2 separate regions of the Homo sapiens genome follow, and region 2 is linked to region 1. Evidence: promoter capture Hi-C in human tissues and cell types (Jung and others, 2019). All regions are on one chromosome and are shown on one strand. The core of a region is centred on a gene start or on the middle of the fragment in contact, and the rest is flanking DNA. Distances in the headings are between cores, read along the strand shown. Region 1 holds the start of CLDN23 (claudin 23). Region 2 has its middle 4.3 kb from the start of LINC02949.

Region 1 (4,329 bases), core at 505-3,004:
CACAATAGCCAAAAGGTAAAAGCAATCTAAGTGTCTATGGATGGAAGACTGGATAAACAAAATGTGGTATTTATGCACAATAGAATATCATTCAACCTTCAAAAGGAAGGACATTCTGACACATGCTACAATATGGATGAACCTGGAGGACATTAAGCTCAGTGAAATAAGCCAGTCACGAAAGGACAAATACGGTCCGATTCCAGTTCTATGAGGTACCTAAAGTAGTTAAATTTATAGAGAGAAAAAAGTAGAATGGTGATCACCAGGGCCTGTGAGGGAGGGAGGAAAGGAGAGTTAGTGTTTAGTGGGTACAGTGTCAGTTTGGGAAGAGGAAAAAATCCCAGGAGTGGATGGTGGTGAGGGTATCACAACAATGTGAATGTATGTCATACCAATGAGCTGTACACTTAAAGATGGTTACAACGGTCAACTGTATGTTACATATATGTTACCACAGGTTTTTTTTTTAATTTAAAAATATTCTTTTAAAAAAAGCAGTCACTGTCATTCCTAGTGTTGTCCACTCTGGAATATTCAAAATTATTTCAAACCAATGCTAAATTAACTTGAATTTTAAAAATAGTTTTAATTTTAAACAATTATAAAGGCAATACGTTTTCATTGTAAAAATCTAGAAAATACAAAAAAGTGTTATTAAAGGATAATTTTTAGAAAAAATGTAAACATCGTGACTTTCACACAAATATAAAATGAATATGTGTGAAAGAGGTTATTTAACTCATTATTGAATAAGGAAACCAGTATGATGTTAAAACCAAAGAAGCTGGCCACTTGCCTGCAGTCCTAGCTACTCCAGAGGCTGAGGCGGGAGACTCACCTGAGCCCAGGAGTTTGCAACCAGCCTGGGCAACACAGCGAAACTCCCCAACCCTGTTTAAAATAAATAAATAAATAAATAAATAAATAAATAAATAAAAGAAAAAGGAAAAAAAAAAAGCAAAGAACAAAAGGACACACATATACAGACAAACAGGAATGCTAAAATGAATTTACAAATCAATGCCATACTGGTCAGTATCCATTGGACAATAATCATTCCACTGGGACGAACTCATTAGCCTTGATGTTGGCAAAAGTCATTTGCAATACTACAGGCTTTCTATAATTTATAGAGTTGTAAAATAACCTACAGACGAGAAAGGCCACAGTACACTGTAAAATTAAATAAACCTGCAAAAAACGCTAAGCAGGACATCCGGGAACACTGGTCCCTCTTTCTAGTCCCCTTGAAAGTCTCACAAGGCTGAAAAAGGAAAGTAAAATCCTTGTGTAACCCTTCTGCCCAGAAGTACACTGGCACAGATTCTTTAGAGACGAATTTAATCCAGAGTGTGGAGCCTTTATTAAGGAAATAATCCGGTGCAACGTTCTGGGACACGCTCCTGGACTGGGTGGGCTTCTGCACACTCACCCAGCGCACCTCCAATCCCCGGGAGCGCTCGGCACCGCCCACTTCTCTGCGAGTGGCTGCAAGTTGCAGAGCAAACCAGGGGGCGATCTGGAACCCTCTGGGAGTAAAGGGCTAAGCTATAAGCGCAGGGTCGACGGGCAGGGACCGGAAACAAATTCTAGGAACCGAGATCCGCTGAGCAGCAGGGAAGCTGCGCAGCCACCGCGTCCCGCCAGCGCCGCCTCTTTCCCTCCCCGCCCACCGCCCGCCTGGCCCGGCGGGGCGGCGCGAGGACCCAGGGGCGGGGCGACCTTTGCTCCGGCCGTGAGCAGTCCAGGCCAGGCGTGGCCCAGCCGCCCGGCTGCAAGGTGGGGTGTCCCCGCCGCTCGGATCCCCATCTCACCTGCCGCGGGCGAGGTGGCCCCGCCGCTTCCTGCGCTCACCTCGGGTCCCTCCCTCCCGGGCCAGGTTTGGCCGCGGCAGCCGCCCCTGGGCGCCCGCGCCCGGACCCGCGGTTTCGGTCAGACCCGCCCGCGGGCTGGTTTCGATTAGGGCCAGTAGGAGGGCGGAGCGGCCGGGACGCCAGGAGGGAACTAGCCTAAGTGGGGACGGTCCCCGTGCAGGAGACAAAGAGCGTCCCTGGAGCGATCAGGGCTCAGGAGCCCGACCCGGAGCCCGGGGCGTCCGCGCTGACTTCGGGTCCCCGGAGCCTGGGGCACGGCAGGGAGAAGACGACGGCGGAGAAGGCGACAGCGGAGAAGGAAGGCAGGCTGCAGGGGCGCCGTCGGCGCGGCGGGCCGGGATGCGGACGCCGGTGGTGATGACGCTGGGCATGGTGTTGGCGCCCTGCGGGCTCCTGCTCAACCTGACCGGCACCCTGGCGCCCGGCTGGCGGCTGGTGAAGGGCTTCCTGAACCAGCCAGTGGACGTGGAGTTGTACCAGGGCCTGTGGGACATGTGTCGCGAGCAGAGCAGCCGCGAGCGCGAGTGCGGCCAGACGGACCAGTGGGGCTACTTCGAGGCCCAGCCCGTGCTGGTGGCGCGGGCACTCATGGTCACCTCGCTGGCCGCCACGGTCCTGGGGCTTCTGCTGGCGTCGCTGGGCGTGCGCTGCTGGCAGGACGAGCCCAACTTCGTGCTGGCAGGGCTCTCGGGCGTCGTGCTCTTCGTCGCTGGCCTCCTCGGCCTCATCCCGGTGTCCTGGTACAACCACTTCTTGGGGGACCGCGACGTGCTGCCCGCCCCGGCCAGCCCGGTCACGGTGCAGGTCAGCTACAGCCTGGTCCTGGGCTACCTGGGCAGCTGCCTCCTGCTGCTGGGCGGCTTCTCGCTGGCGCTCAGCTTCGCGCCCTGGTGCGACGAGCGTTGTCGCCGCCGCCGCAAGGGACCCTCCGCCGGGCCTCGCCGCAGCAGCGTCAGCACCATCCAAGTGGAGTGGCCCGAGCCCGACCTGGCGCCCGCCATCAAGTACTACAGCGACGGCCAGCACCGACCGCCGCCTGCCCAGCACCGCAAGCCCAAGCCCAAGCCCAAGGTCGGCTTCCCCATGCCGCGGCCGCGGCCCAAGGCCTACACCAACTCGGTGGACGTCCTCGACGGGGAGGGGTGGGAGTCCCAGGACGCTCCCTCGTGCAGCACCCACCCCTGCGACAGCTCGCTGCCCTGCGACTCCGACCTCTAGACGCTTGTAGAGCCTGGGGGGCGCCGGGTGGCAAAGGACTCACCCCCGCACAGGCCCGCCTGGCTTCGAGTTGGAACCCGGACACTTGCCCCTCACTGGTGTGGATGGAAATCTGCCTTTCGTGGGACCAAACAGGACTCCTTGGACGATTAGTTCAGGTTGGGTTTGGTTTTCTTCTTAAAGAGTTTAGTTTTCCTCTCCAGAGGGATCAGGGTCCTCTTAGGGAGTGACGGGCTTTTCATATATTTTTGCTGAAGAATATATGGAAAGGGTGGCATTTGCGTCACGTGGACCAGGGACAGTGCTGAAATCAGCAGTGCTCAGAAACAATTTAACATGTTGAAACGACAATATTCTAAAATACTGATGAATCTTGCATCAATATAATTATTGGGTTTTTTTTCTTTTTCCTGCTGTATAACTCCTTGCCATGCAAACTCTCAAGAGGCCAATATATTCCTGGCCATGTTTGAATGAGCCTCTTAAAATAAACTTAGAGCCATGCAAATGCCAGCAGCTTAATGGATTTCATGGAATGAAATACCGTGATTAACTCATAGCTACATATCATTGCATAAATGGGATTTATCTTTTTTCTCACTTATTTTTGCGGTGAAAGTCGAGGGCATGCAAGAGTTTCTCTTCCAGAAGCCAAGAGGAGAACAAAGGTCCTAATGCTGTACTATTCCACCCTTTGGACGCCTCATCCAGGACGCAGAGGACTCTAGGTTTAACATTTTGTACAAAATGGAACCTGTTAATCATATTAAAGCACATATGTATATATCTTTTATTTATAAATAAAATTTTAAAACAATAGTTTCAGTATAGCCACAAAAGCTCTTTTGTCTTCAGTACAACGTTTGGGAGTTTAAACATTCATTACTAACAATTTCCTGGCTGCCTCGGCACTTGTGTCTGAAATCTAGCACTCAAATCTTTGCACCTCTTAGCATAAGGTTACTAAAAAAAGCCAACGGGCCCCACTTAAGTCCCTGATTGCTTTGGTTTTAGGTTCATGCCATTTCTGTGCAAAGCCAAGTCTATTGCTGAGAAAACGAGAAGCACCAGTTTCCACTTGAGGTGAGACTGGAAATCTTTTCCTTTGTAGCAGTGGTGTTTAGAATCACAGGAAGGCAGCTATGTGTTCCATGAAGGGGACTGGGTCTCCAGCAGGGCTGGCTTCAATTCCAAGTGGTTGATTTAAGGGTACCTTTAACCGAACTGAATCTCT
Region 2 (3,868 bases), core at 1,350-3,849, 270 kb before region 1:
TAAAAGGCACGATATTGCACATCAGAAACAAATTCAGTACCTACTTGGAAAAAAATAGCATTTAAAAATAAAATACTAGGCTGAGCGTGGTGGCTTATGCCTGTAATCCCAGCACATTGAGAGGCTAAGGCGGGTGGATCACTCGAGGTTAGGAATTCGAGACCAGGCTTGCCAACATGGTGAAATCCCATCTCTACTAAAAATACAAAAATGAGCCAGGCTTGGTGGTGAGCACCTATAGTCCCAGCTACTCTGGAGGCTGAGGCATGAAAATCACTTGAAGCCGGGAGGTGGAAGTTGCAGTGAGCCAAAATCACACCACTGCATTTCAGCCTGGGCAACAGAATGAATCTCCATCTCAGACAAACAAACAAACAAACAAAAACAAAACAAAACAAAACTATTTCAAACATTTTAAGCTAATGGCAGCCCATAAGTGCCACATCTCCCTTTTGACCTCTTCCCATAGGCCCTGGAGTCTGTGCACTCCCAGGCACACATACCCTGTTGTCTCTCAAGCATCCGCAGTGCAGGTGGGGGACTTACGTTCTTACAATCCTAAAACCTTTGATTATAACCCACACTAAAATAAGAAAGGTAATCAAATGTGTGGGTGGAAGCTTGCCAGACATTTGTAGAGTTCCATACCGTTCATAAAGTGCTTAAAAATGCTTAATTTCATTTGAATAACACTTGCTGTTGTAGCTATGTAGATTTTTCTTTCTCTTTTTCTTTTTTAAAAAGCAAAGGTATATACAACAGCTCATTTAAAAAGACTAGACAGACCCTAGCTCCAACTAATTCTCTAGATTGAGCACGTGAGAGAACTATGTTCCATTTCCTTTTTTGGTATCGCAGGCCTTGATCTCCAAACAAACACATGAAGTAAGTGTCTAAACTCTGGGTGGAAGTAAGCTAATCATTGACATTCAAAACACTCTGCTACTTGACACACTTAAACAATAAATGCCCAGCTGGCTAAAATTCTATTGCTACAAATCATTATCTCTTTAAGGGGCCCACATAAATCTATGCAGGTGTTTGGAAGACTATAACCTGTCTGCGACTTTTTTTTGCATCTCTAGGAGTGTTCAGCTCACAGACTGGCACAAAGGAATGATGACTGTGCCTTTGTGGGAGGAGGAGAGATTAGGTCATTGCCACCGAGGGAACACTTGCTCTGACCCAGGTGGCTGTCAAGAAGCGACAGATTGAATCCCTCTAACTCATGTGGCAAATAGATTATTCTCATTTCACAGATGAAGAAACTGAGGCTCAGAGAGGTTAACTTGTTTAATTTCATAAAGCATGAGAGTGGGAAGATGAGATTTGAACCCGAGTTCCTCAGAATTGTATAATATCTTGCTGTTTACTCTTTCTTTTCTCTCTCTCTCTCTTTTTTTTTTTTTTTTTTGTTGTTGTTGTTGTTGAGGCAGGGTCTCGCTCCATCACTCAAGCTGGAATGCAGCAGCACGATCGTGGCTCACTGCAACCTGCACCTCCCGGGCTCAAGAGATCCTCCCACCTCACATCCTGAGTAGCTGGGACTACAGGCACACACCATCATGCCTGGCTAATATTTGTATTTTTTGTAGAGATGGAGTTTCCCCATGTTGGCCAGGCTGTTCTCAAACTTCTGGACTCAAGCAATTCACCCACCTGTGCCTTCCAAAGTGCTGCAATTACAGGCATGAGCCATCATGCTTGGCTTACTCTTTTTTTTTTTTTTAAACAATCAGTTTAACTTCTGAAATGTTCATATTAATCCTGATGCTGCTAAAAATTGTATTTCTAGAGAAACTCACATTGGCACTTCAAAATGGATATTTTTGTAACCTTTACCAGAATACAACAAAGCTTCAGAACACCACTGAATGTCACAGTGAATTCGTATGGCTGGAGAGCTGCCTGGGAATTAAGGCTCAGATCCCAGGTTCGCTATGGAATAAAAATACTATTTCTGATAAGATAGATGGTCTCTCACTTTGGTACATTTTCTTCCACTCTTTTAAAACAAAGATGACTCTTTTTCTGTGTTTTTGCTTCTGAGATAATATGAAACTTCAGGAAGTCCTGTTTGGTTCAGTGGAGCCAACTGGGACAAAGTTGCTATAAAAATCTGAAGAATCAGCCCCTGTAAGGAACAATTTGACAACCACAACCATAGCCAGCAGAAACATGATTAACACCATCATCATCAATACTACCACAGCCATCATCACCATTACCACTATCATCAATATCACCAACAACATCATTTTTATCGTCACTGTCATCATTACCATCATCATCATCAGACTTTCCTAGGATAGGACAGATGAGGTAGTTTCCTCTTCCTCATGTGAATTTATGATTTTCCTATCATAAATTATCCCCCACAAGTTATCTCCCACAATTACCCATGCCTGTTCAAACTTCAAATATTTTAACCATGACTTTGACAGGATACAGACTTTGTGTAAGTGAAAACAAATATTCAAGATGCATGCATGGCAGAGGTCATTTACAAACTTCTCTCTTTGATCAGTCAAATTCTTTTCATTGTTTACATAATAGTGGTCAGCCTTCAAAAGTGTCTTTGAAGTAAGTTTCAATATATGCTTTGCCTGACTCACTCACCAACCCAAAACACACACACACACACACACACACACACACGCGCGCGCGATTGCATACACACACACTTACTTGTATAACAACTTGCTTATATACTGATGTTCTCTAAGTACAAATGTCCTCCCATGGCCTGTCTCTCAAGTCCCCAGATTTATACACTGTGTCACTACTAAACTTGGGATCAGATGTTGCTCTCTAAGTACAGGTGATTCTTTTTTATTTTTTTGAGACAGAGTCTCACTCTTGTCACCCAGGCTGGAGTGCAGCGGCAAGATCTGGGCTCACTTCAACCTCCGCCTCCCGGGTTCAAGCGATTCTCCTGCCTCAGCCTCCAGAGTAGCTGGGACTACAGGCACCTGTCACCACGCCCATCTAATTTTTGTATTGTTATTAGAGACGGGGTTTCACCATGTTGGCCAGGTTGGTCTCGAACTCCTGACCTCAGGTGATCTGCCCACTTCAGCCTCCCAAAGGGCTGGGATTACAGACACAAGCCACCATGCCTGGCCAAGTACATGTGATTCTAATCTACAATGACATGTAACACAAGAACAATATTTATTTATTTATTTATTTGAGACAGAGTCTTGCTCTGTCGCCCAGGCTGGAGTGCAGTGGCGCAATCTCAGTTCACTGCAAGCTCCACCTCCCGGGTTCATGCCATTCTCCTGCCTCAGCCTCCTGAGTAGCTCACACTACAGGCACCTGTCACCACGCCTGGCTAATTTTTTGTATTTTTAGTAGAGATGGGATTTCACCGTGTTAGCTAGGATGGTCTCAATCTCCTGACCTGCTGATCCACCCGCCTCAGCCTCCCAAAGTGCTGGGATTACAGGCGTGAGCCACTGCGCCGGGCCCGAACAAGCTTTATGTTTAAAAACTGTAACTCATAGATATGAGTATTAAGATTAATTTTTTAAGTTAATTTTTAATTAATTTTTAAAATTTAATTTAATTTTTTAAAATTAATCTATTGGATTTTAAGTATACAAAAGCTATTGTCCATTTCAGAATAGCAATATAAAAAGTCCTTAAGAATCTGTCTGAAGGCTGGGCACCAGACCATCCTGGCTAACACGGTGAAGCCACGTCTCTACTAAAATTACACACAAAAAAAATTAGCCGGGCGTGGTGGCGGGCACCTGTAGTCCCAGCTACTCCGGAGGCTGAGGCAGGAGAATCGCTTGAATCAGGGAGGGGGAAGTTGCAGTGAGCCGAGATTACACCATTGCACTCCAGTCTGGGAGACAGA

Evidence for each region. The method cuts DNA at HindIII sites, captures the fragments that hold promoters and counts their contacts. A contact is called where the count stands out against the background at its distance.
Region 2: a fragment that was not itself captured here is called in contact with the fragment with the promoter of CLDN23 in region 1 in 3 of the 25 tissues and cell types used here (IMR-90 fibroblasts, dorsolateral prefrontal cortex and hippocampus).

What each region holds. Positions count from the first base shown.
Region 1 is chr8:8,700,183-8,704,511 of GRCh38, forward strand. CLDN23 (claudin 23) reads left to right here and starts at 1,755. Exons shown (of 1, transcript NM_194284.3): 1 at 1,755-3,914. The coding sequence starts at 2,217. The coding sequence ends at 3,095. RefSeq lists a silencer at 1,488-2,107 and an enhancer at 1,581-2,548. The HindIII fragment of the contact is 23,279 bases long and covers 1-4,329 here.
Region 2 is chr8:8,426,971-8,430,838 of GRCh38, forward strand. No RefSeq gene overlaps it. Among named protein-coding and RNA genes, the nearest start is that of LINC02949, 4.3 kb to the left of the region's middle. The HindIII fragment of the contact is 5,506 bases long and covers 1-3,868 here.